7 separate regions of the Homo sapiens genome follow, and all the other regions are linked to region 6. The links are contacts of gene promoters, found by promoter capture Hi-C in blood cells and fetal thymus (Javierre and others, 2016). All regions are on one chromosome and are shown on one strand. The core of a region is centred on a gene start or on the middle of the fragment in contact, and the rest is flanking DNA. Distances in the headings are between cores, read along the strand shown. Region 1 overlaps DNM3 (dynamin 3). Region 2 overlaps DNM3 (dynamin 3). Region 3 overlaps DNM3 (dynamin 3). Region 4 overlaps DNM3 (dynamin 3). Region 5 overlaps DNM3 (dynamin 3). Region 6 holds the start of C1orf105 (chromosome 1 open reading frame 105). Region 7 overlaps DNM3 (dynamin 3).

What was found. Contacts are between HindIII fragments. The CHiCAGO score rates a contact against its expected background, and 5 or more counts as called.
Region 1: a contact is called between a fragment that was not itself captured here and the fragment with the promoter of C1orf105 in region 6, in 2 of 17 cell types (M1 macrophages and total B cells). The highest score is 6.4, in M1 macrophages.
Region 2: a contact is called between a fragment that was not itself captured here and the fragment with the promoter of C1orf105 in region 6, in 2 of 17 cell types (naive CD8 T cells and M1 macrophages). The highest score is 5.6, in naive CD8 T cells.
Region 3: a contact is called between a fragment that was not itself captured here and the fragment with the promoter of C1orf105 in region 6, in 1 of 17 cell types (M1 macrophages). The highest score is 5.4, in M1 macrophages.
Region 4: a contact is called between a fragment that was not itself captured here and the fragment with the promoter of C1orf105 in region 6, in 12 of 17 cell types (M1 macrophages, M0 macrophages, naive B cells and 9 more). The highest score is 14.8, in M1 macrophages.
Region 5: a contact is called between a fragment that was not itself captured here and the fragment with the promoter of C1orf105 in region 6, in 1 of 17 cell types (M1 macrophages). The highest score is 7.2, in M1 macrophages.
Region 7: a fragment that was not itself captured here is called in contact with the fragment with the promoter of C1orf105 in region 6 in 10 of 17 cell types (M0 macrophages, total CD8 T cells, M1 macrophages and 7 more); the score reaches 11.0 in M0 macrophages.

The regions. Positions count from the first base shown.
Region 1 is chr1:171,969,458-171,972,759 of GRCh38, forward strand. All of the region lies in intron 2 of DNM3 (dynamin 3), which reads left to right. Among named protein-coding and RNA genes, the nearest start is that of DNM3-IT1, 110 kb to the left of the region's middle. The HindIII fragment of the contact is 1,859 bases long and covers 487-2,345 here.
Region 2 is chr1:172,027,635-172,030,818 of GRCh38, forward strand. The region is part of intron 4 of DNM3 (dynamin 3); the gene reads left to right. Among named protein-coding and RNA genes, the nearest start is that of MIR3120, 110 kb to the right of the region's middle. The HindIII fragment of the contact is 4,804 bases long and covers 1-3,184 here.
Region 3 is chr1:172,064,380-172,067,815 of GRCh38, forward strand. All of the region lies in intron 10 of DNM3 (dynamin 3), which reads left to right. Among named protein-coding and RNA genes, the nearest start is that of MIR3120, 73 kb to the right of the region's middle. The HindIII fragment of the contact is 2,581 bases long and covers 626-3,206 here.
Region 4 is chr1:171,988,075-171,991,503 of GRCh38, forward strand. DNM3 (dynamin 3) reads left to right here. Exons shown (of 21, transcript NM_015569.5): 4 at 871-1,074. Among named protein-coding and RNA genes, the nearest start is that of DNM3-IT1, 130 kb to the left of the region's middle. The HindIII fragment of the contact is 3,571 bases long and covers 1-3,429 here.
Region 5 is chr1:171,951,222-171,954,849 of GRCh38, forward strand. All of the region lies in intron 2 of DNM3 (dynamin 3), which reads left to right. Among named protein-coding and RNA genes, the nearest start is that of DNM3-IT1, 89 kb to the left of the region's middle. The HindIII fragment of the contact is 2,332 bases long and covers 803-3,134 here.
Region 6 is chr1:172,418,840-172,422,509 of GRCh38, forward strand. C1orf105 (chromosome 1 open reading frame 105) reads left to right here and starts at 1,846. Exons shown (of 7, transcript NM_139240.4): 1 at 1,846-2,067. The coding sequence starts at 2,047. It overlaps LOC102724528 (a long non-coding RNA gene), which reads right to left. Exons shown (of 3, transcript XR_001738294.3): 1 at 3,658-3,670. The HindIII fragment of the contact is 10,347 bases long and covers 1-3,670 here.
Region 7 is chr1:172,006,491-172,009,948 of GRCh38, forward strand. The region is part of intron 4 of DNM3 (dynamin 3); the gene reads left to right. Among named protein-coding and RNA genes, the nearest start is that of MIR3120, 130 kb to the right of the region's middle. The HindIII fragment of the contact is 2,793 bases long and covers 12-2,804 here.

The DNA.
Region 1 (3,302 bases), core at 166-2,665, 450 kb before region 6:
CTTATTATGCAGATAGCATCTCCCAGGTAATCTCTGGAGCTGCCCTAACAATAGATGAGAAGTCTGTCTGGACATGGTGATGACTCCTAGTCTCTTCATTGGGATTCCTAGAAACGGGGGGTCTTAAAATAATTGCATTTCTTTGATAAAGAAGCTTTCTTGGTCATATAAAGGAAATTCTAGAAAGGGTCTCTCCCAATGTGCTTCAGCAAAAAAAGATTAAAGAAACAGATAGGCAAGTGAAGGCCAGAGAGAGACCTTGGGGCTGCTTCTTTAGTTCAGCATGTCAAAACACCGTATTTTGAGGTATTGCTCTCTGGGCCCTAATAAATATATGGTCTTATCTAATCCTCACAACAATCCTAGGAGGTAGGTGACACTATCCCCATTTTACATAGAGGAAACTGAGGCACAGAGAAGTTACAGTTTACCCAGAACAGTCAGGGTTGTTTGGAGTATTAACATGAAATAATGTGTGTGACTAAAAGCTTGGTGTGTAGTACAGCAGATTCTCAGTCATTTTTAATTTACTCTAAGGGTCAAGAGTTAGTAAATATAGAAGTCCATGTGACTTTGGGGCTTTCATTGGGCAAAACCACAAGTTTTGGCGGAAACAGATAAAGATAAGCACTTATTCTTATTTGGCATAGATAGTTCCTTCCTTCTGCATCCTACTGCTATTTTCATTTTATCGATGGAATACTTTGAAGCACGAAAAATCATTATATCTTGAAATAATTTTTAAAATAATCCAATAACAAACTCAGAACTACTGAAGAATAATAAAGGTAAGACAATACATATTAAACATTTTAAGGGTAACATTTTTGGGAAATTGACTTTTTTTAGCTTTATGGAATATTATTATCATTATTATCATGATCATTATTATTTCCATTCTACATAGGAAGAAATTGAAGCACAGAGAAGTTACAGGTTAGCCAGGAGAATACCTATTTTCCAGAACTTTTGTGGGGTATTAACAGTACTTAATATGTGTTAATTTACATACTAACTTAGGTAACAAGCGTGTGTTAAGAATAAGTATATAAAATGTGTTTTTGGATTCAAATTTTATTTTAAATGTGATAGATAGAAATATTTTTGCTAAGATATATAATTATCCTCCAAATTATTTTTAGGATGAGTATGAATTTTCATATGCAATGCAGTTCCATCTTATGTAAGCGCTGTATTCTAAAATTAGCTTTTAAATCAAATATAGGGTATAGTAAGAATCATCATTAGGACCACTGAGCTCAATATTGTATATATGATGTTGTGTATACAACTAACATTCCTTCTAACTTTTTACTGGTCACTGTTTTTCAATGGGTCTCAATTGGATTTTTTTAAAATTTCTTCTTTCAGGATGTTAACAAAGAAGAATCAAGTAGCTATTATCAGAATTCAGTTTTGTTTTCTGTGGAAATCTCTTTCCCTAACAGGTTATAACAATCCAGTGGTGTGCTTGTCAAATTTCAGCATTACCTTTATGTTGAACATTTAAAAAAATAATAACAGTAGCCTACATTTTAAATATACTTAGTATGAAATGGGCATTGTATTAAATTCTTTCTGTGCATTATCTTATTTAACATTTAACCACAAAGAGGAATGCATTCTATCTCTTACACTTCTTCATAAATGCTTTATGCTTTCACTTGTTAATTTCACACATTTTTATTTTTAAAAATTTGGTATGTGTTCTTATTTGCCCAGCCGTATATCTCCTATTTCCTTTTGTTTTTTCTCTTTGGTGCTTTTGTTAATCACTTGTTTATAGTTTTAAATATTCTCTTTTCTCCTCTTGGTTTTTTCCCAATTATATGAAGTCTCCTAAGTCTAATTCAGATTCTACCCTTTCTATAAATCCTTTACAGATCACTCTACCCTAAAAAGACCTCTCCCTTTGTGAAATCTACATAGCATTCATTTGACAATTATTCATTAAGCTGCTTATCTTGAAATTTTATTTAAATCTTTTGCTTAATTTTCACAAGTTTGTCTTCTTTTCCAACTTTGGTAAGTTCTTCAATTATGAAATATAGCTTAACACTTTGTTTCCCTATAGTAGTAGTTCTTTAATTCTTTAATGAGTAGCAGATTTTCATATGGCCAGAAAACGCCACTCCCAATTGAAAGGATATATTACAGAATGGAAAATAATCTGAACTTTGTAACCTAAGAAGCAAAATAGTCTGAATTCTGCAACCTAAGAAGCACAATGTGTAATTGAAGGCTTGCTAAAAAAACAAAAACAAAAACAAAAAACCCAGAAAACCTTATCACAAAAGCCAACACAGGTTTTGGGAAATTGAAAATATAATATTTTCATGGTATTAAGCTTCATACGAAAATGAAGTCCAGACAGCAACAACATACTCTTGAGAGTCTTATCCTGAGTTAGTCTCTATAACTGATTAGACCAGAAGGGGAGGAGATGGCTCATAAAAAGATCTGCTTCTAAAAGGAAAGTCTGAGAGATTTTGCTCTAGAGTGTTGGTTCATACTGAACGAGGAAAAGAACACTGGAAGTTCTAAAATGCTGAAAGAGGTATTCAAGACCTCATAGTCTTTGAAAAACAGCAAATAGTAGTTCAGTTTTGACTTGGAATCATTCATTCATTTATTCTTGTAATCATTTCTGTATCCTTAAGGAATGTTAAATCAAAGATGTAGAAGACATAGTCCTACTCTCTAAGCACTTTCTTTGTAGCACTGGAGATAAAACACAAACAACTAGTTACTACGCTGTGGAAGGCGTAATACATGTTATATGAATATTCTTGAACGTGTTACTTAGCCTTCTGGGATTTAGTTTCTTTATCTGTAAAGAGCAAGCACTGGCTTTGGTAGAAAATCTTTAAGGCTGTTTCTACATGCAAAATCACGTAAGTAGTACATTCACAAGATCTTGAAAAGCTTTAGAGGAGAAACACATTCCTTATAGTGGAGAGATCAAGGGAAGTTTCTTAGTGGAAATGATATTTGAAGAGGGCCTTGTTAGGTTGTTTTGATAGGCATATACTATAATAGTGATAAAACCAGTTATTGAGTGTTTGCTGTGCAGAAGGCAGTATGCGAGGCACTTTAAATACAGATTCCTAGGCTTGGCGCAGTGGCTTATGCCTGTAATCCCAGCACTTTGAGAGGCCGAGGTGGGCGGATCACCTGAGATCGGGAGGTTGAGTCCAGCCTGACCAACATGGAGAAACCCTGTCTCTACTGAAAATACAAAATCAGCCGGGCGTGGTGGCGCATGCCTCTAATTCCAGCTACTTGGGAGGATGAGGCAGGAG
Region 2 (3,184 bases), core at 511-3,010, 390 kb before region 6:
ATACAGAGTCAGGACCCATCCATGTGCTGTATTCAGGAGATCCATCGTATGTGCAAAGACACACATAGACTCAAAATAAAGGGATGGAAGGATATTTACCAAGGAAATGGAAAGCAAAAAAAAGCAGAGATTGCAATCCTAGTCTCTGATAAAACAGACTTTAAGCCAACAAAGATCAAAAAAGACAAAGAAGGGCATTACATAATGGTAAAGGGATCAATGCAACAAGAAGAGCTAACTATCCTAAATATATATGCACCCAATACAGGAGCATCCAGAATTCATAAAGCAAGTTCCTAGAGACCTACAAAGAGACTTGGACTTCCACATAATAATAGTGGGATACTTTAACACCCTACTGCCAATATTAGGTCAACGAGACAGAAAATTAACAAGGATATTCAAGACTTGAATTCAGCTCTGGACCAAGAGGACCTAAGACATCTACAGAACTCTCCACCCCAAATCAACAGAATATACATTTTTCTCAGCACCACATCACACTTACTCCAAAATTGACCACATAATTGGAAGTAAAACACTCCTCAGCAAATGCAAAAGAATGGAAATCGTAACTAACAGTCTCTCTGACCACAGTGCAATCAAATTAGAACTCAGGATTAAGAAACTCACGAAAACCACACAACGTCATGGAAACTGAACAACCTGCTCCTGAATGACTACTGGGTAAATAACAAAATTAAGGCAGAAATAAATAAGTTCTTTGAAACCAATGAGAATAAAGACACAACGTACCAGAATCTCTGGAACACAGCTAAAGCAGTGTTTATAGAGGAAGTTATAGCACTAAATGCCCACAGGAGAAAGCATGAAAGATCTAAAATCGACACCCTAACATCACGATTAAAAGAACTAGAGAAGCAAGAGCAAACAAATTCAAAAACTAGCGGAAGAGAAGAAATAACTAGGATAAGAGCAGAACTGAAGGAGATAGAAACACGAAAACCCCTTCAAAAAATCAATGAATCCAGGAGCTGGTTTTTTGAGATTAACAAAATAGACTGCTAGCCAGATTAATAAAGAAGAAAAGAGAGAAGAATCAAATAGACAATAAAAAATGATAAAGGGGATATCACCACTGATCCCACAGAAATACAAACTACCATCAGAGAATACTATAAACACCTCTATGCAAATAAACTAGGAAATCTACAAGAAATGGAAAAATTATTAGACACATACACCCTCCCAAAACTAAACCAGGAAGAAGTTGAATCCCTGAATAGACCAATAGCAAGTCTGAAATTGAGGCAGTAATTAATAGCCTACCAACCAAAAAAAAGCCCAGGACCAGATAGATTCACAGCCAAATTCTACCAGAGGTACAAAGAGGAGCTGGTAGCATTCCTTCTGAAACTATTCCAATCAATATAAAAAGAGGGACTCCTCCCTAACTCATTTTATGAGGCCAGCATCATCCTGATACCAAAACCTGGTGGAGACACAATAAAAAAAGAAAATTTCAGGCCAATATCCCTGATGAACATTGATGCAAAAATCCTCAATAAAATACTGGCAAATCTAATACAGCAGCACATCAAACAGCTTATCCACCACAATTAAGTTGGCTTCATCCCTGGGATGCAAGGCTGGTTCAACATATGCAAATCAATAAACATAATCCATCACATAAACAGAACCAACGACAAAAACCACATGATTATCCCAATAGATGCAGAAAGGCCTACAAAATTCAACATCCCTTCATGCTAAAAACTCTCAATAAACTAGGTATTGATGGAACGTATCTCAAAATAATAAGAGCTATTTATGACAAACCCACAGCCAATGTCATACTGAATGGGCAAAAGCTGGAAGAATTCCCTTTGAAAACCGGTACAAAACAAGGATGCCTTCTCTCACCACTCCTATTCAACATAGCATTGGAAGTTCTGGCCAGGTCAATCAGGCAAGAGAAAGAAATAAAGCGTATTTAAATAGGAAGAGAGGAAGTGAAATTATCCCTGTTTGCAGATGACATGATTATATATTTAGAAAACCCCATCGTCTCAGCCTGAAATCTCCTTAAGCTGATAAGCAACTTCAGCAAAGTCTCAGGATACAAAATCAATGTGCAAAAATCACAAGCATTCCTATACACCAATAAGAGACAAACAGAGAACCAAATCATGCATGAACTCCCATTCATGATTGCTACAAAGAGAATAAAATACCTAGGAATCCAACTTACAAGGCATGTGAAGGACCTCTTCAAGGAGAACTACAAACTACTGCTCAAGGAAATAAAAGAGGATACAAATAAATGGAAAAACATTCCATGCTCCTGGATAGGAAGAATCAATATCATGAAAATGGCCATAGTGTCCAAAGTAATTTATAGATTCAGTGCTACCTCTATCAAGCTACCACTGACTTTCTTCAAAGAATTAGAAAAAACTACTTTAAATTTCATATGGAAACCAAAAAGAGCCCATGTAGCCAAGACAATCCTAAGCAAAAAGAACAAAGCTGGAGGCCTCATACTACCTGACTTCAAATTATACTACAAGGCTACAGTAACCAAAACAGCATGGTACTGGTACCAAAACAGATATATAGACCAATGAAACAGAACAGAGGCCTCAGAAATAACGCCAGACATCTACAACCATCTGATCTTTGACAAACCTGACAAAAACAAGCAAGGGGGAAAGGATTTCCTATTTAATAAATGGTGTTGGGAAAACTGGCTAGCCATATGCAGAAAACTGAAACTGGACCCCTTCCTTACACCTTATACAAAAATTAACCCAAGATGGATTAAAGACTTAAATGTAAGACCCAAAACCATAAAAACCATAAAAGAAAACCCAGGCAATACCATTCAGGACATGGGCAAAAACTTCATGACTAAAACACCAAAGCAATGGCAATAAAAGCCAAAATTGACAAATGGGATCTAATTAAACTAGAGAGCTTCTTCACAGCAAAAGAAACTATCATCAGAGTGAACAGGCAACCTACAGAATAGGAGAAAATTTTTGCAATCTACCCATCTGACAAAGGGCTAATATCCAGAATCTACAAAGAACATAAACAAATTTACAAGAAAAAAAACAAACAACCCCATCAAAAAGTGGGCAAAGGTTATGAACAGACACTTCTCGAATGAAGACATTTATGTAGCCAACAAACATATGAAAAAAAGCTCATCATCACTGGT
Region 3 (3,436 bases), core at 666-3,165, 350 kb before region 6:
GGAAATGGTGATTGCACATTAAATAAGAGACATAGAAGAGAGGTGAGGGATTGAATTGAGCAATCAAAGTTAAGTATGTTTTAAAGCTAAGTAAAGGGTGACACAAACTGAGCAGGGCACAGTTTGAATGAGATCATGAAATAATCTCATTATGAGATTAAATGAGATAATGAAATGAGTGGTAGAAAGCCTAATCAGAAATCAATTGAAATGTCAGTAGGACTTTATTTTTTAACCTCTGTATGTATGTATCTTAAGAATTGGGACTATTTATATGTTTGGGACTATTTATATATATTTATATATTTTATATTTGAAAGCCAGCAGTTAAAACCAAGATTTTGACTCTTATACTCCCACAATCAGTTCAATATCAACCAGCTAGTAACCAAACCAGTTGTTTCATTAATGCCATTCAGTGGTGGGCCTAGATCCTACATTGCTTAGTGTCTCTTCAAGGTTTTTCCTCCTTTGTCTCCATAATGGTAGTTCTTCTAGTGTGTTCTCTGTTTCTTTTGTTCCACTTAGAATTCAGGCTTATTGACTTCCAGTTGTCTCAATTGTAGGTACAAAATTGTGGCTCTTACAGATTCCTTTTCTGGTAGAATTAAGCCCATGGGCAGTAAGCTTGAAAAGATCAGGAGACACACACGTGCACACAAATCAATGCTCCTGCCAAGGCCAGTAGATTGGAGGCATTCTTAGATGTCTCTACTTCATGGGATATTCTTGTCATTTTGGCCTTTCCCTGACTTAATGATGGCCATATACTGGCCTGGGGTCCTTCAGCTATCAAGTGTTTAGTATCTGAATAAATATTTATATTGCCACTATTTGATGGTTTTAAAAATAACTTTCTGCTGTAATCTATTTGCTAAATGCTGTTAAAGCCATCTCACTCTTCCTTGGTAGACCTCAAATGCTTGCGTAGTTACTTCTCTGAGGCAATGTGATTCTATAATAGTGTGGCTGTCATTGAATAGCTTGGGAAGCTGTCTGAGTGCAGGCGGAATTGATTGTCTTGGTGACCTAGGGCAGGCTAATGTTTGGTGTCAGATACACCACTCAGGTTTGCACTAGTCAAGAAGGACTGGAATTGATCAGCTATCTCTTCCACTCTGAAGGCTTTTATAAGCCTCACAAAAAATAACTTGGAGGACTTTCAGAGAGTCAAGAGGGGTTCTGGTATAATAGAGCTTTTTCTGGAGAATGTTTCCAAAATGGGAAGTATGAGCTCCATTTGTATCTTGCGGTAATTCATGAAATAAGCCCCCAGGTGAGCGTGCATCTCAGGATTCAGATAAGAGGGTGAGAAATCGAGGACCTCATGGAGACGCTGGTGATGATTTTTGTGGTAACCAAAGCAGTCAGGTTTCTATGGTTTTATGATGTTATGAACATAATCTATATCCACTGTTGAAATATTTGGAAAATGTAGATAAATAAAAGTGTGCATAATTCAAAGAGTTATTGCTATTAACACTTTATAGTATCTGTGCAAATCTTTTTCTATGCACAGAGAGTAGACTTGCAGCAATGGAAGATTTAATGTATATGAGATCTCGTGATTATGATGGTTTCATGAAGTACTGCAGTTTGTTAACTTGCTAAGACACTAATATATGTTGTGCATGCTATAAAGGTAATGTGCACAGTGACCTCAGGTGACCATACAGAAGCCCCATTTCAGGGAGGCCTAGATCTAACTCCTTATGAGTTTGGAGAAATATTACATGCTATAATATTACTCAAGAATGTTGGTATTTGTAAGATTGGGCTATATCCTTGAAAAATGTCAAGGGTGTATGGTGGTGTGTGACTCTGTGTGTGTGTGCATGTGTGTGTGGATGTGTCTTAGTCCATTTTCTGTAGTTTATAACAAAATACCTGAAACTGGGTATACAGAAAAGGAATTTATTTCTTTATACAGAAAAGGAATTTATACAGAAAAGGTATTTATTTCTTACAGTTATGGAAGACCCAGTGTTGAGGGTCTGCCTCTGGTAAGGGCCTTCTTGCTGGTGCAGGGTATCAATCATATTGTAAGGGTGCTGAGTGTGGTAGCATGCTAGCTCAGGTCGCTAGTCCTCTTCTTATAAAGCTACCAGTCCCACTCCCATAACCTATTAATCCATTAGTCCATGAATGGATTAATCCACTCATGATGGCAGAGCCTTCATGGCCCAATCACCTCTTAAAAGCCCCACTTGTCAATATAGCCACATTGGGGATTGAATTTTAACATGAATTTGGAGGAAAGAAATATCCAAACCAAAACATTATGCTTGTGCATAACCACATTATATATTTAGTAGCCTAATTTTCTTCAAATAGTGTTGTAAATACTTTACCATGTCATTAGTTATTATTAAAACTGTTATTCAAAATGGCTACATTACATCACGTAAGTGGATCTACCTTCATTTATTTAACATCATCAGATACTAGGTAGTTTATAGTTTGTTTATCTTATTGTTGCTTTTCCAACTAATGCTGTGATGAATGTCCTTATCATTGTAGTTCAGAATTCTGTGAGGTTATTAGGTTGAGATCTCTCTCTCTGTCTCTGTGTTTGTGTGTGTGTGTGTGTGTGTGTTTGTGTGTGTGTGCGCGCGTGCAAGACTTTTGATACATAATGTCAAATTGCTTTCCAGAAAGATTTCTCTTCTTGACACCCCTCAGCAAGTTTAAATTGTGCTAATCTCAGTATACCCTCACCTGTAGTAAGTCTTATAAAAAAATAGCAATTTGCCAATATAATAGTTATTTCTTTTCTTTGCATTAGATCACTTGTACAGTTTGTTTTTCCTTCTGCTTATTGACTATTAAGTCTTTTACAAATTAAATCATATTCTTTGCCTATTTTATTGAGCTATCTGTTAATCTTATTAATTTGCAAGCACTTTAAAAATCATCATTGGAATTAATATTTTGCCTGGCCTAAGTCATGAATGTGCCCACTTTTCTCCATTTCCATTGCTGTCATCCCAGTAGAAGCCACCATTATTTCCATTCCATCTGAATTGCTTCAGTAGCCTAAATTCCTGATAGAATTGCAAGGATCTGCTTGATGTGGCCCCTCTCTACTTTTCTAGCTTTGTCTGAGGATCATACTCCTCAGTTTCTGCACGGACTTTCTTTTACTTTTATCGCCACTAATTGCCCCCACTTCCACCATGCCTTCACACATGTTCCTGTTCCTGGCAAGCTTCATCTTCTCCACGGCCATTCTCACACACCTTTGCCTGTCTAAGTCTTCCTTCTGGATTAGGGCTCCTTAAACATTTTCATAGCATCCCATTCTCTTTCTTCCTTATATTGAAAACAACTGAATTAAGGTATTCACTTTTGCAAACTATGTTTTGAACAATTACCTGCATAATTTAGATGGGGTTAAGTGATTGACATACACAATTTCCATAGTTTTGCAAAAAAA
Region 4 (3,429 bases), core at 507-3,006, 430 kb before region 6:
GAAAACTTCCATTTTTCAGTCTTTGCTGAAATCTTAGAGGTACATGTTACTATGGTTGCATCTTCCCCTATTGGATGTCTTGCAGCCATATATAGTCCTATTTATTTTCTTCCTGAGAAATCAGCTCTGACTTTTTCCCCCAGACTATCGGTAGAAACTTATAAATTAGATAACCAATCCATAATGTGTGATGGGAAATAACCTGTATGCTGACTAAATTTTTAGTGGGCAAATTTTCATTTCTTATTCCCTACTTAGCTCTATTGCTTTTAAAACAGAATATAAATGACATAAGCTCAATTATGACTTCCCAAGGGTACTTGGTGCCAACATTGTTTATATGGAGAGGTTGGGCTAGAGTCATGTTGTCACTGACTCTGTTTGTACAGCTGATTCAGTAAACCCAGGGCACCACGAATGGCTAACAGCTTTCTACTAGGCTAAGTGGTTAACTTTCTATTAAAAAAAAAAAATGATACTTTTTAAGGAAAGGGCAGTCTTACCCTGTGAGTTTTTATACCACTTGAAGGCAATGTATAAGACTGGCAGATAGCATATGCATTTCTCATTTGGTGTTTTAATTATAACCCCCTAGTTACAGATATGACAGCTTTCTGAGCAAACTGTTAGGCATGCAAATCAGTGCCTTTCAAATTATGTTAAAGTGATCATTTGGCATAGCACAATCATATCATAAAAATAGAGAAAACTAGCAAAACCATTTTTATTTTATGCTCTTTATTCTACACACATGGGTTGGAGTTGTTCAGATACACAAAGTAGAAGGCTGAGCTAAGTGACAAATGATTCTGTATTGTTATCTTTTAGCATTGAAGGTGTATGTAAGACTCCTTTATCCTTTCCACACAGTGTTAAATCTAACCCTTATTGATCTACCTGGAATAACTAAAGTGCCTGTGGGAGATCAGCCACCAGATATCGAGTATCAGATCAGAGAAATGATTATGCAGTTCATCACGAGGGAGAACTGTCTGATTTTAGCTGTTACTCCAGCCAACACTGATCTTGCAAACTCAGATGCGCTGAAGCTAGCTAAAGAAGTTGATCCTCAAGGTGAGTGTGTGACTACTAAGATGAGAAGGAATTAAAGTGTCAGGAGTTTTGGTATCTTTAAAGGTAACATAAATTCTTAAGATTTGGTTTCATTATAAATAAATTAGCCATTATTAATGTTGTTAAACCTTTTGTATTTTAAATAGAAAATTCAGTATTTAATATTAAAAAATAATAAATAATTTTAGTAAAGATTTACTAAAATAATGAAATTTATATAGTCAAAATCTATATAAATCTAAGAATAATGAGATCTAAGAAAACAGGCATTTCTAAGCCTCATGGGCTGCATATTTTAAAAAGTTGGTAAAATAAACTTCTGGTACAGCAGAATTCAGACAATCTACTAATTATTATGAGTTACCTGCATATGCTTCCAGTGAAAAACCTTTGTGTTTTTTACTTTGTCTTGTTTCTTTAAAATAGGAAGCTCTAATGCATGTAAGATATTATTTAGCTTATAATTATTTGAGAAAAAATGTACGTATAAGCAGGGATTTATTTGGTATTGTCATCTCAATATCCAGAAAAGGTCCTTTCTTATGCGTATGTTTAAACTTTTTACTTCTCTAAGTTGAATAACGACAGTTTATCTTCAGAGACCTCAGTGCTGGCCTTGGTGTGTGTCTGTTTAAAGTGATTGTGGAAGGGCATTCAATGATGTGCCCTTTCAATATGGAGATACATGTTCTTCAGTTCTAGGAATTTTTCTTTTTTGATAATTAATTGTCCCAATTTCTTTGTTCTTTTTATCTGTAGTTCTTATTAGCATGTTAGAACTCCTAAATGAATCCTTTATTTCAATCTTTCTCTTCTATAATCATTTCTTTGTCTTTTTGTTCTACTTTCTGCAAGATTTTATCAACTTTATCTTCTGCTCTTCTGATTCATTTTAGAGGTTCCAAAAGCATATTTTTACTTTGTGAATCTTATTTTTATTTTTTAAAATAGCATCATGTTCTTGTTTTCATAAATACAATATCTTCCTCCAAGGACTTTAGTGAGAGCTTTTTGAAGGTTTTCTTTTGTAATCTACATTGTCTGAATCTATTGTTTTCTGATTGTTTGTTTTTGTCTCTGTCTTTGATGTTAGAGACCTTTTTCAAATGTTTGTCGATCTTTTGCCGCTTGTTCGTGCATGAGAGTGGAGCACCAAAAAGCTGATTTATGTACATGACAGGGATTCATTGACCAGTGGGTTTTCCCATGGAGTAACTGTGCTGAGAGTTGACCATTTTGTTAGGAGACTTCCTCAACTGTTAGGTTCTATGAGTATTTTCTCCTGAGCTGGTCTGGTATAAGCCTGATGTCTAGTGTTCTTGGAGCCAAGAATTGGTGGGTCAGGGGATGGAGTGGGAGGAGGATGGTTCTCACTATTCAGTGTGTACACTTTTAATTAATTCCTCTGCTTTCATGATGGCATTCCTGAAATTCTTCTGGAGTCCAGAGTCCCTCTGGTTCAACCTCTTTTGAAGCAAGTCTTCAGTACTCTGCTGAGGTTGAGGAAGGGTAGCTATGTGGGTGTGTCCTCTAGGAGCCTTCAGCCAATTCTTTTATTTTCAGCTCTTCCTATACCCTAGCATTGGTTCTCCAATTCTTAGGCCTTTCCAGAATTCTGCAATGGTAACTGTTTTTTTCTTCTTGGTTTCCTCCACCATCCCTGAAACTGGGGCTTGTAACAAGCAGGTAGAGGCTCCAGATGACAAGTAAGGACCATCACCAGGACTCCCTTTACAGCGTCAGTGGCTTGGAAGAGTCAGATTATAAACTGGGACTGGAATCTAGTTATAAAAATGGTGCTGAACCATTCCTGTCTTACAGCCTTCTTTCCCATAGGAGATTGAGCCATGGTTGTCTGATTGGGACAGAGAGAGTCATACCATCAGTGAATTCTAGTGAGTTCAGCCCAGTCACATTCCTGAGGAGTCCACACGTAGTCCACGTAGAAAAAACAAACTCAGCTTCTCCTACTATATTCTCAAACACGCTTCTGACTCCAGATGTGTGGTGATTTCTCCCTACTGCAAACAAGCAATTAATTCTTTTCTGCAGCAGACATCAGCTAGGTATCCTCTGATTAAATTTTATTCTGATACTATTTACCTGGAAATAGCATCAGATCACACTGATTGAGGGTTCAGTCCCACAAGATGACCCCCACTTCTGATGCCAGTTACAAGATCCAGGTTGTTTACCCTGTGCTCTGACTGACTGGCTATAAATTGGGGTTTCTACAACCTTCTTCTTGTGTTCTATTAATTTGCTAGAGGGGCTCACAAAACTCGGAGAAACAGTTCTTTGTTATAAAGAATATTACAAGGGATACAGATGAAGAGATGCATAGGGCAATGTATG
Region 5 (3,628 bases), core at 719-3,218, 470 kb before region 6:
CTGTTCTTTTACCTAAGACATGATGATTACTTTGATAAAACACACACTTTGATCTCAAGGTAGGGAAGATGCAAATCTCATATTCTGAACTCTCCAAATAAATGTAAGACTTGGTGCCTACTTGGTTATCAAGTGACAAAATTATTGAAATAGGAGCCAAACTTTGAAATATTTTACATGCGGTGTTTTGCATTATGAAAGTTTCGTTTGTCATCTACTTGATTTTCTCTTCTTTAACTGTGCTTATGTTTGGCAAAACCATTCTCATTCTCTAAAGTTTAGGGGTTTATCTAATTGTTTTCTCTAGTGGTCAATGAGCATCTTGAGAGTGAAGACCATGCCTTATTTATGTTGTATTCTAAACACCTCCTTATAGCTCCTGGGAAATTTATAGGCATTTATATAAATGCTCCTTGAATGAATGAATGTGTTCCCCCAACATCCTTACTGAATACTGAATTTGGGATCTTGTGAAATCCTACTCAGTTTAAGCTTTAGTGGAGGTGTTGACAAAAAACTAAGCTCTGTAAAACATTTCAAAAGGTTTATTATGAGCCCATATTAATGACTATAGCGCAGGAAACAGCCTCAAGAAGTCCTGAGAAAGTGAGCTTAAGTGGTTACAGATTGGTTTTATACATTTTAGGGAGATACAAATTGTAGGTAAAATCATAAATCAATACATAGCAGGTGTACATTGGTTCAGCCTAAAAAGGAAGAATATCTTGAAGTGAGAGTTGGGGTGTTACAGGTCATAGGTAGATTCAAAGATTTTGTGATTGGCAATCAGTTGAAAGAGTTAAGCTTTGTCTGAAGACCTCAAGTCAGTGGAAAAATATTCTTGAATTAAGATAAGGGAGGTTGTGGAGACCAAGGTTCTTGTTATGTAGATGAAGCCTCCAGGTAACAGCCTTCAGAGAGAAGAGATGGCAGATGTCTTTTTTGGGGACCTTAAAATGTCACACTTTTAGTTAATCCTTTCTTAAACCTGGGAAAAGCCTGGCTGCATTAATGGAGATTATCTGCAAATGCAAACTTCCTCCATAAAAGATGGCTTTGCAGGACCATGTCAAAATATGTCAAAGAAATATACTTGGAGATAAAACATTTTGATTTTCTTTAGGATCTGCTATCTGTCATGTGATGCTACATGAGTCAGGTTGGAATTTGGTATCTTATTGCCACAAAGAGTTTGTTTTTTCGGTCTTAATGATCTCTGTTTTAATGGTAATGCTGGTCAGTCAGTTGTGTCTAAACTCTAAGAGGGAGGGGGTGTAACAAGACATGTCCAACCTCCCTTTCCATCACGGCTGAGAATTCAAATTTTCAGGTTTCTCTGGGGTTCCCTTGGCCCAGAGGGGATCCATTTCAATCGGTTGGGGAGGCTTAGGATTTTATTTTTGATTTACAGGGGCAAATACAGTAGAAGTTTGTATTCCATGAAAATTTAATAACACAAAATTTAGTACATGGAATTTATTATAAATGGAAAGACTAGTACATTTATTGGCTATTTTGAAGAGAGTTATTTTGCAATATGAATCAATGAATAACTTATATCATTGCTTCTTTGCTTCTATAGAAACCAAATAACTTTCTATGACTGGGACAGGTAGTACCTCTATGTTTAAATAACTATTTTCTCTTAGAGTGTTATAATTTGTATTTCTCATCATTAATAGAACCAGTTTTACTGCCAACATGAATAAAACACTCTCCTTTTTACATTATTTTATTCTCTCAATTCAGAGAGTTAGTTATTATGTCATGGCTTTTGGTAAGAAATGAGTGATAATTCTAGGTATTTCCATGATAGTCCTTTGTTGGAAGGAAGGACTTCAAAACTTTAAAATAATCAAATTTCAACTAAATAAAAATTGCCATATAAGAGATGATCTGCTAAGGTATCTAGAGGACTAACATCTATGCCCTCACACTCATATCTAGTTCTTGCAGATTTATTTCTTTCAAACATCATATGCTAGCTGAATGTGATGCTTGCTATCGCCTACTTATCACAAACTTTGCTGCTATTTTTTTCCTTTGTAATTAAATGCCATATGCACACCTTCAATTAAGATAATTACATTTATGATTTTAGTTTAGTCAAGTCATCTGGCACTTTTCATGATATCAGTTATCTGACCTTTAAATAGATGAGAACTTAGGGAAGCATTTAGCATGCCCCATGCGCAATTCTTTTTTTTTTTTTTTTTTTCCTCCCAAGATAGAATCTTGCTCTGTTGCCCAGGCTGGAGTGCAGTGGCGTGATCTCAGCCCAGTGCAACTTCTGCCTCCCGGGTTCAAGCAATTCTCCTGCCTCAGCCTCCCGAGTAGCTGGGATTACAGGCACATGCCATGATGCTTGGCTAATTTTTTGTATTTTTAGTAGAGATGGGGTTTCACCATATTGGCCAGGCTTGTCTCGAACTTCTGACCTCAGGTGATCTACCCGCCTCAGCCTCCCAAAGTGCTGGGATTACAGGCCACCATGCCTGACCCCAATTCTTTATTTTATTTACAATACATCATTTTCTGACCTCATTTAAAAAATTTTAACTGAAGGATTTCTAGTAGACAGGAAAGTTGCCAAGAAGGTTTAGCTTTAAAAGAAATGCCTTTATAATAAATGGCATAGAATTCCCATTATGCTTTTGTTTTAATTTGTTGTAGGAAAGTATGGGATGTGGGATTTAGTTTCCTCACCGTTGTGGTCATTGTCCTTTTTCATATACTCCAGTTTGTCAGTAAAGCTGTTAAAGCATGACATCCAATACTGCATGCAATCCCTGTGGGCTCAACCTAGCACATAACTCAGAGGGACTACTGCCCCTTCTGTTGTGGACATTAACCTGCAATTAACTCAGTCTTAGATCACATTAATTTTGGGGCCAGGACACTTTATTACTGGTTCATAGTGAACTTGCAGCCCATTGTAACTGCCAAATTTTTTTTCTTTTTTGCACTTTGCCTGGATCCTCTATTAGCATTGATTTAAGAACAGTACTTTGCATGTATTATCATAGTAAATCTCTTTTGCTAAATTTGACTGATGATTCCAGCCTGGTGAGATAATTTTGGGTCCTGATTCTCTTTTCCAATTTGGTTGCAGTTTCTCCTTTGTGGTTATAATAAGCTTACTATCTAACCTCGTCCAAATTCCTGGGGGAAATAATGCTTGTTAGAAGTGGGTCAAGGAGTTTCTGGAATAGCATCTTGTTCTTCCTCACACATTCTTACCCTTCTTTAATTTCTGGATGCAAAGTATATTGTTCCTTGTTGACAAAATGGAAAATGAAATCCTCTTAAGATAGTAAAGTGGCTGTCAACTGTAATGCTCTTAAATCACTTTGCTGCTTAGTGCTCTCACAGCTGATACGCAGTTCCCTCTGTGGGCAGCGGCGTTTTACATCAGATCACCTTCCATTTCAATTTAGCATGCCTGCTCACTCCTGCAAGGGGAGGTTTAGTCCTTGGTAACAAGTCTAGAAAATTCTAAATTACACCAAAGGAAAACACCACCAGGAGATGGAGGATTTTTAATGAAAACATATTTTCACAGTGTGGCATTTCAAGTAGAATAACTAGAATTGTGGAAACTGGGGCAACATTGTGTTATGCAATTTTT
Region 6 (3,670 bases), core at 596-3,095:
TGTAGAGCAAAAACACATAAACCTCATAAATTCTATATGGCAAATGTAAGGGCGAAAAACCACATCATTCAGAATAAAAGTACAAGGCAAGGAAATGTTGCCACCTTGAGAAGAAAGACTCTTCATGATGTCAGTAAAGCACTAGAAAAATGGAGTCCATATAAGTTTGAAGGAATAGAGAACTTTTTATTCCTCTATCCTCAAATGGTAATTCTAACACTAAAATTTTAATCTATAATTTTTTAACAAGCATCCCAAAGATGTATCCAAATAAAATGTTTATTATTTAGGTAATATAGTACATTCCACCAAATATGTGATCTGAAGCCTTCCCAAAGGTTTAAGATTTAATTCAGAATTTTATTTTTTGAAAATTTATGTGGCCTAAAATAGAACTTGAAAGTAGTCCTTCTCAAATGAGATCACTTCTGAATGTGCTCCCCTTCAGCATATTAAGATGACAGAAAACTACATGACAAGAGAGTCAAAAAAATCATTCATCAGTTCTATTTACTTCACATCTGACCTAGGCAAGCCCTGGCAAAGGAGGTATTTGGAAGATGTGGGCAGGAACCCCCAGTTGTAAAAGGGAGAGTCCTCATTAGTAATGCTGTTTCTTCGGACCACAAATTTTTTTAAGGACTGAGTTCTCCACTCAAAAATGAAAAATCAGTTTCTTGGTTTAAAATGTTCATATGGCATGTTACATTATTTTAATTGTATCCCCGGTCCAGTGACTACCATTTAAAATCAGTGATAACTAAGAAAGTTCAAAGGCTCCAAACCAAGGCATCAACTGAAGCTCATGTATAGCAGGAAGGAGGTGACTTGATGTAAAATAGCACATAGCATGCAGTCTTTTGTCCTTTCCTTCCCCTCCAGTCCAGGCATTTGATTTTTAAATCAATATTCTTAGTGGATAGCATTCTTCATCCCAATAGACAAAAATGTACCTAGATGATTTCATACCACCTCCCCAAATGAAAACCGAAGTTGTCAAAGAGAAGGTTTTCTTCAATTCATTTTTTAAAAGTGTTTGGTACTTTTCCACTTTGTCTTAAACATGGACTTATTTTTATATGCAGTGTTACACAGTTTAGATGTATAAAACTTAAATTGACCTGATGAATGATGAGAAGGAAAAACTCCAGTCATAACAGAATGAAATGACAACCTTACTCAGTTTTCCTTAACAAAGAAGTGTGTTCCCTTCCTTACATTCTATAGGCAAGAAAAAAGAGGGCAGGGGAAAGGGATGGGGGGCAGCCTGGAGTAAAATTAAATTATGCTAAGATTTGTTAATATGTATTTAGTAAATAGTATTTCTATGTTTCATAATATACCTTTCCCCAACTCTTCTTACCTCCACCTCCACCCTGCTATGTTTAATAGACTTGAAAAATTACTCCCTTTTTCAGAGTTGATCATAACTCAGGATAGTCAGGAAGAGCCAAACTATTATGCCTTTAGTAAACATAATATTCCTTATATATTTTCATTCCTTTATTTATGCATCAAACATTTCTTGAATTCATGATAATGTCCTGGACCCTGGGAATACCAGAGAAGTAACAGAATAAAAGTAGCTTACAAAATAGCTAAATAAGCAATTACAATGTAGTGCTACAATAAGAGAAAAGTTTGGTTGTCTTTCCAGGGAGAACTGTTCTGACTTCAGTACTGAAGCAGCTATCTGAGTTTTAGTATACTGTTATCAACTTTACCCAACACATGCTAATGTTCCAGAACATTGTGATTTTGACTTCTAACAAAGAAAGGAATACTAGAACTCATTTCAGCCAATCAGAAACTGAGCTTTTCATTCTGAATGGAATTATATGATTCAAGATGTAAATCACACAGATGTTGGTAGAGAAAAAGGCATACTGGTATTGAAACTGTAAACTGGCCTGTTTACTTCGTCTCCTAACAAAAAACACTTTGGATTCAGGTTCTCCACAGCAGTCTTCCACTGGCCACAGTGAGGGGAGCTAGGTTTCCCCAGTCTCCAGCTAGAAAAACTCAGAACATCTAAAGATCTGAAAGATGGAAAAAAGAGAACTAAAGGTAGGAAAAAAATAAATGAAACTTCCAATTCTTTCCTTATGGGGTTACCCTGGTAAATGTTTGTATGCCTTGGAGGCCACATAAACATTGAGGGGTGTTTCAACAGACATCCTAGAAGTTGAAAGCCAAAAGAAGGTAAGGAAATAACAGCTGATGTTCAGTTACAGGTGAAGATAATTTTAATGGGTTTGGGGCATGATAAATTTCAATGCTCTTTATCGTATAGTTTGGAAAAAATGTTGTACTTGCCAACATCTTTTATAACTCAGCATTTAAGTATGATTTTTTTAAATCCTCAGAAAATTGATACCAGATTCTTTAGTGCAGTTCCCTGAGATTCTGAAGTAAACCTTCTCAACTGTGAATGCACTTTAAAACAATGAATCTCAGTCACAGGAAGTTAAGATTGCTGAGAAAGAAAAAAAAACTTGTATAGACTTTTATAATTACTAGGGTCTAAATCTGAATAAATCACATTGAGCTTATGACACTGTATGTTTCCTATTTAAAGGGATATACTAGCTGTCTCTATTACCATAGTACAGGTGCTCCTTGACTTATGATAGGGTTACATCTCAATAAACCACCACAAGTTGAAAATATTGTAAGTCAAAAATGCATGCAATACCCTGATGAACCCATGATAAAGTAAAAAAATCCTAAGTTGGGGAGGACGCAGAGCAAGATGGCCAAACAGAAGCCTTCACTGATTGTTCTCCATGCACGAACATCAAATTTAACAACTATCTACACAAAAAAGCACCTTCATAAGAACCAAAAATCAGTGATCACAAAGTGATCACAGTACCTGGTTTTAACTTCGTATTGTTGAAAGAAGCACTGAGGAAGATAAGAAAGACAATCTTGAATTGCTGACACCACCCCTCCCCCATCCCCTGGCAGCAGCCACATAGTGTGGAGAGAGAATCTGTGCACTTGGAGGGAGGGCACAGCGATTGTGGGACTCTAGAATTCAGTGCTGCCAATACGGGGCAGAACTTAGCTGTTGCCAATGGAGGGACCATTTAGACCACCCTTAGCCAGAGGAGAATTGCCCATCCCAGGTTTCAGAAACTGAGTTTTGACTACCTCCACCACCATGGGCTAAAGTGCTCTGAGGTCCTAAATAAACTTGAAAGCCTGTCTGGGCCACAACAACTGCAATACCCAGGCAAGTCCTAGTGCTGTGCTGGGCTCTGAGCCAGTGGACTGGGGAGCGCACGATCTAGTAAGACACCAGCCAGGATGGCTAAGTAAGTGCTTACAGCACCCCTCCCCCAACCCCAGGCAACACAGCTTATGGCTCCAAAAGGGACTCCTTCCTTTGCTTGAGGAGAGAAGAGGGAAGAGTGAAAAGGACTTTGTCTTGCAACTTGGATACCAGTTCAGCCAGAGTAGGATAGGGTACTGGGCAAAATCCTGAGGCACTCATTGCAGGCCCTAGCTCTTGGATGACATTTCTAGATATACCCTGGGCCAAAAGGGAACTGCCTTGAAGGGAAGGACCCAGTCTTGGCAGATTTCATCACATGCTGAATAAAGAGCCTTTGGACCCTGAAAAATCAGTAGCAGTAGCCAAGTACTACATACCGTGGGCCTCAGC
Region 7 (3,458 bases), core at 158-2,657, 410 kb before region 6:
AAAACTCAGTAAGCTTCTCTACTATCTGCTTCTTGTTAATTCCATGTACAAATAACTGTACCCAATGATTTTTCCTAGACACAGATCTTAAATCTATTTTATTTATTTATTTTTCATGTGGCCAATACCCTCCACCCCCTTCTTCTGTCTCTTTCAACTTATTGTGGTTACCTTGAGGCTACCTGAGACAGTAGGCTTGGGTGGGGAAGTATGCATTCTAAGTGTAAAGTTTGATGAGCTTTGACAAATGTCAACCCATGTACCAGAACATTTTCATCACCCATAAAATCTCCCTTGTGTCACTTGCCAGTCAGTGTCTATTCTAGTATCCAACTCCTGGCTCCAAGAAACCATTGAACTGTTTTCTGTCACTATAAATTAGATTTGTCTTTTCTAGAGTTTCATGTAAATGGAATCATACACTAAGTACTCTTTGTGCCTGGCTTCTGCTCAGCATAATGTTTTTGAGAATCATTCATGCTGCTGCATGTTTTCAGTAGTTCATTTTTTTAAATAGGTGAATTGTAACTCATTCTGTGAATATACCATATTCTGTCTTCCATTTATCTGTTAGTGGATCTTTAGGTCGTTTCTAGTTTTGGGCTATTGCAAATAAAGCTGCTGTAAATATTAATGCACAAGTTTTCCATGTTCATATGTTTCATTTCACTTAGGAAAATACCTAAGAGAGGAATTGCACATATTAAAAAAATTTTAAAAACTACTAAGCTGTTCTCCAAAATGGTTGTACAATTTTTATTCCCAAGAGCAATATGAGTGTTTAATTGCTCCACATTCTCACCAACACTTGGTGCTTGTTAGTTTTATTTTCATTGTTTTCATTGTTATGTCTGTGAGGCAGCATTGATGTGCATGTCTCTGAGTGTCATCTTAGCGGTGATGCTGAGCATCAGTTCACGTCCTTATAGGCCGTTTGTATATCTGCTTTGTGAAATGTCTGTTCAAATCTTTTGCCTATTTTAAATTGAGTTGTGTTCGTCTTCTTAGGATTAAGTAATGAGTTAAAAATATTTCTGATACAAATCTTTCATTATATATTTCTAATGCTTTCTCATCTATAGTTTATTTTCTCATATTCTTTAACTGTATCTTTTGAAGAGCAAATTTTACTTTTGATTATGCCCAATTTATCAAGTTTTTATATGGCTCTTTTGATTATGCCCATAATCACATTAGACTTTGCCTAACCCAAGTTTGCAGAGATTTTTTCTTTTATGCTTTTATCTAGAAATTTTGTAGTTTTAGGTTTTAAAAAAGTTTAATTTATTTATTTGAGACAGGGTATTGCTCTTTACATATACTGGAGTGCAGTGATGCAATCATGGCTCACTGCAGCCTCAACCTCTTGGGCTCAAGCGGTTCTCCCATCTCAGAGTCCTGAGTAGCTGGCCAGGTGCATGCCAGCTTCAATGTGTTTTTCATTTGCATTTCCCTGATAATTATTGACGTTGAGCATTTTTTTCATATATCAGTTAGCTATTTGTACGTCTTCTTTTGAGAAACATCTATTCGGGTCTTTTGCCCATTTTAAAGTCAGATGGTTTGTTTGTCAGCTATTGAGTTGTTTGAGTTCCTTGTATATTCTGGATATTACCATCTTGTCAGATGCACAGTTTGCAAATTTTTTTTTTCTATTTTGTAGGTTGTCTCTTTCTCTGTTGTTTCCTCCGGTATGCAGAAGTTTTTTAGTGTGATGTAATTTCATTTGTCTGTTTTTGCTTTTGTTGCCTGTACTTTCTTATTCTTATCCAAAAAATCTTTATCTAGATCAATGTCACGAAGAGTTTCTCCTCTGTTTTCTTCGAGTAGTTTTTTATAATTTTGGGTATACATTTAAGTCTTTAATCTATTTGGAATTGATTTTTGCATATGGTGAGAGATCAGAGTCTAATTTCATACTTTTGGATGTGGAAAGCTAGTTTTTTCAGCACCATTTATTGAAGAGACTGTCTCTTCTCCAATGTGTGTTCTTTGTGCCTTCGTCAAAAATCAGTTGGCTGTGCGTGGATTTATTTCTGTGTTCTCTATTTTGTTCCATTGGTCTAGTTTTAGCCTTAAATTTAGGTCTGCAATTTTTTTTTTTTTGTATATGGTGTGAAGTAAGAGTCAAAGTTCATTATTTTTCATATGGATATGTAATTACTCCAGTACCATCATTTAGTTTGAATGGACTGTCCTTTCTCCATGGAATTACATGGGCATCTTTTGTCTGAAACCAATTATGTATGTTTACGTATGTGTATGTTTATGCATATGTTATAGGTTTAATATATATTAATATATATAATATATAATATATAAATATTAATATGTATTATATAATATATATTAATATATTATATTATATTACTATATAAATAATATTAATATATTATATTAAAATATTAATAAATATATCATATTAAATATTATATTAATTAAATATTAATAAATATATTATATTAATATATTTATATATTAAACCTATAACATATGCATATACTTATTTATATATAACATGCATGTACTTATTTATATATACAATATATATTTATATATTATATAATATATTATATGTATTTATATATTATATATCATATATTATATGTATTTATATATTATATATCATATAATATATATATTTATATTATATATATTATATGATATATAATATTATATAATGTATTAATATATATTAAACCTATATTTATAATTCTGGACTCACTATTTTGTTTCATTGGTGTCTGTGTGTATCTAACCCTATGCCAATAATGTACTATCTTAATTACCATAGCTTTATAGTAAGCTTTGAAATCAGATAGTGTATTTTTTATCATTGTTTTTTAAAATAATAGTTTATCTTTTTATTTGAATTTGTAATCAGCTAGTCAGTTTCTGCAAAAAGCTTACTGGGATTTTGCTTGGAATTATGTTACATCTGTAGCATGTACTATCCAATATTCTAGCCTTTATCCACATGTGGCTATTAAGGTTTAAATTAATTAAATTAAAATTTAATTAATTAAAATTAAAACTTAATAATTGGTTCCTCATTCACACTACCATATGTCAAGTGTTCAATAGCCACATATGGTCAATGTCTTGGAAAAGTCAATACAGTACATTTCCATTATTGCAGTAAGTTCTGTCAAACAGCACTATCGTAGACCGATTAGGAGAGAACTGACTTAACAGTATTGGATGCTCCAGTCAATGAACATCTTTTTTTTTTTCATTTATTTCAGTAGTCTCTGCAGTATATTATAGATTTCAGTTTACATATTTTGCATATATTTTATTAAATGTATAACGGTAGAAGTACTATTATTGGATGATGTGTTCTATAGATGTATTTTAGGTCAAGTTTGTTGATAGTGTTGTTTAAATCTCGTATACCTCTTGATTTTTTTATTTACTTGTTCTTTGAATTACTGAGACAGGAATGTTATATCCTTAAC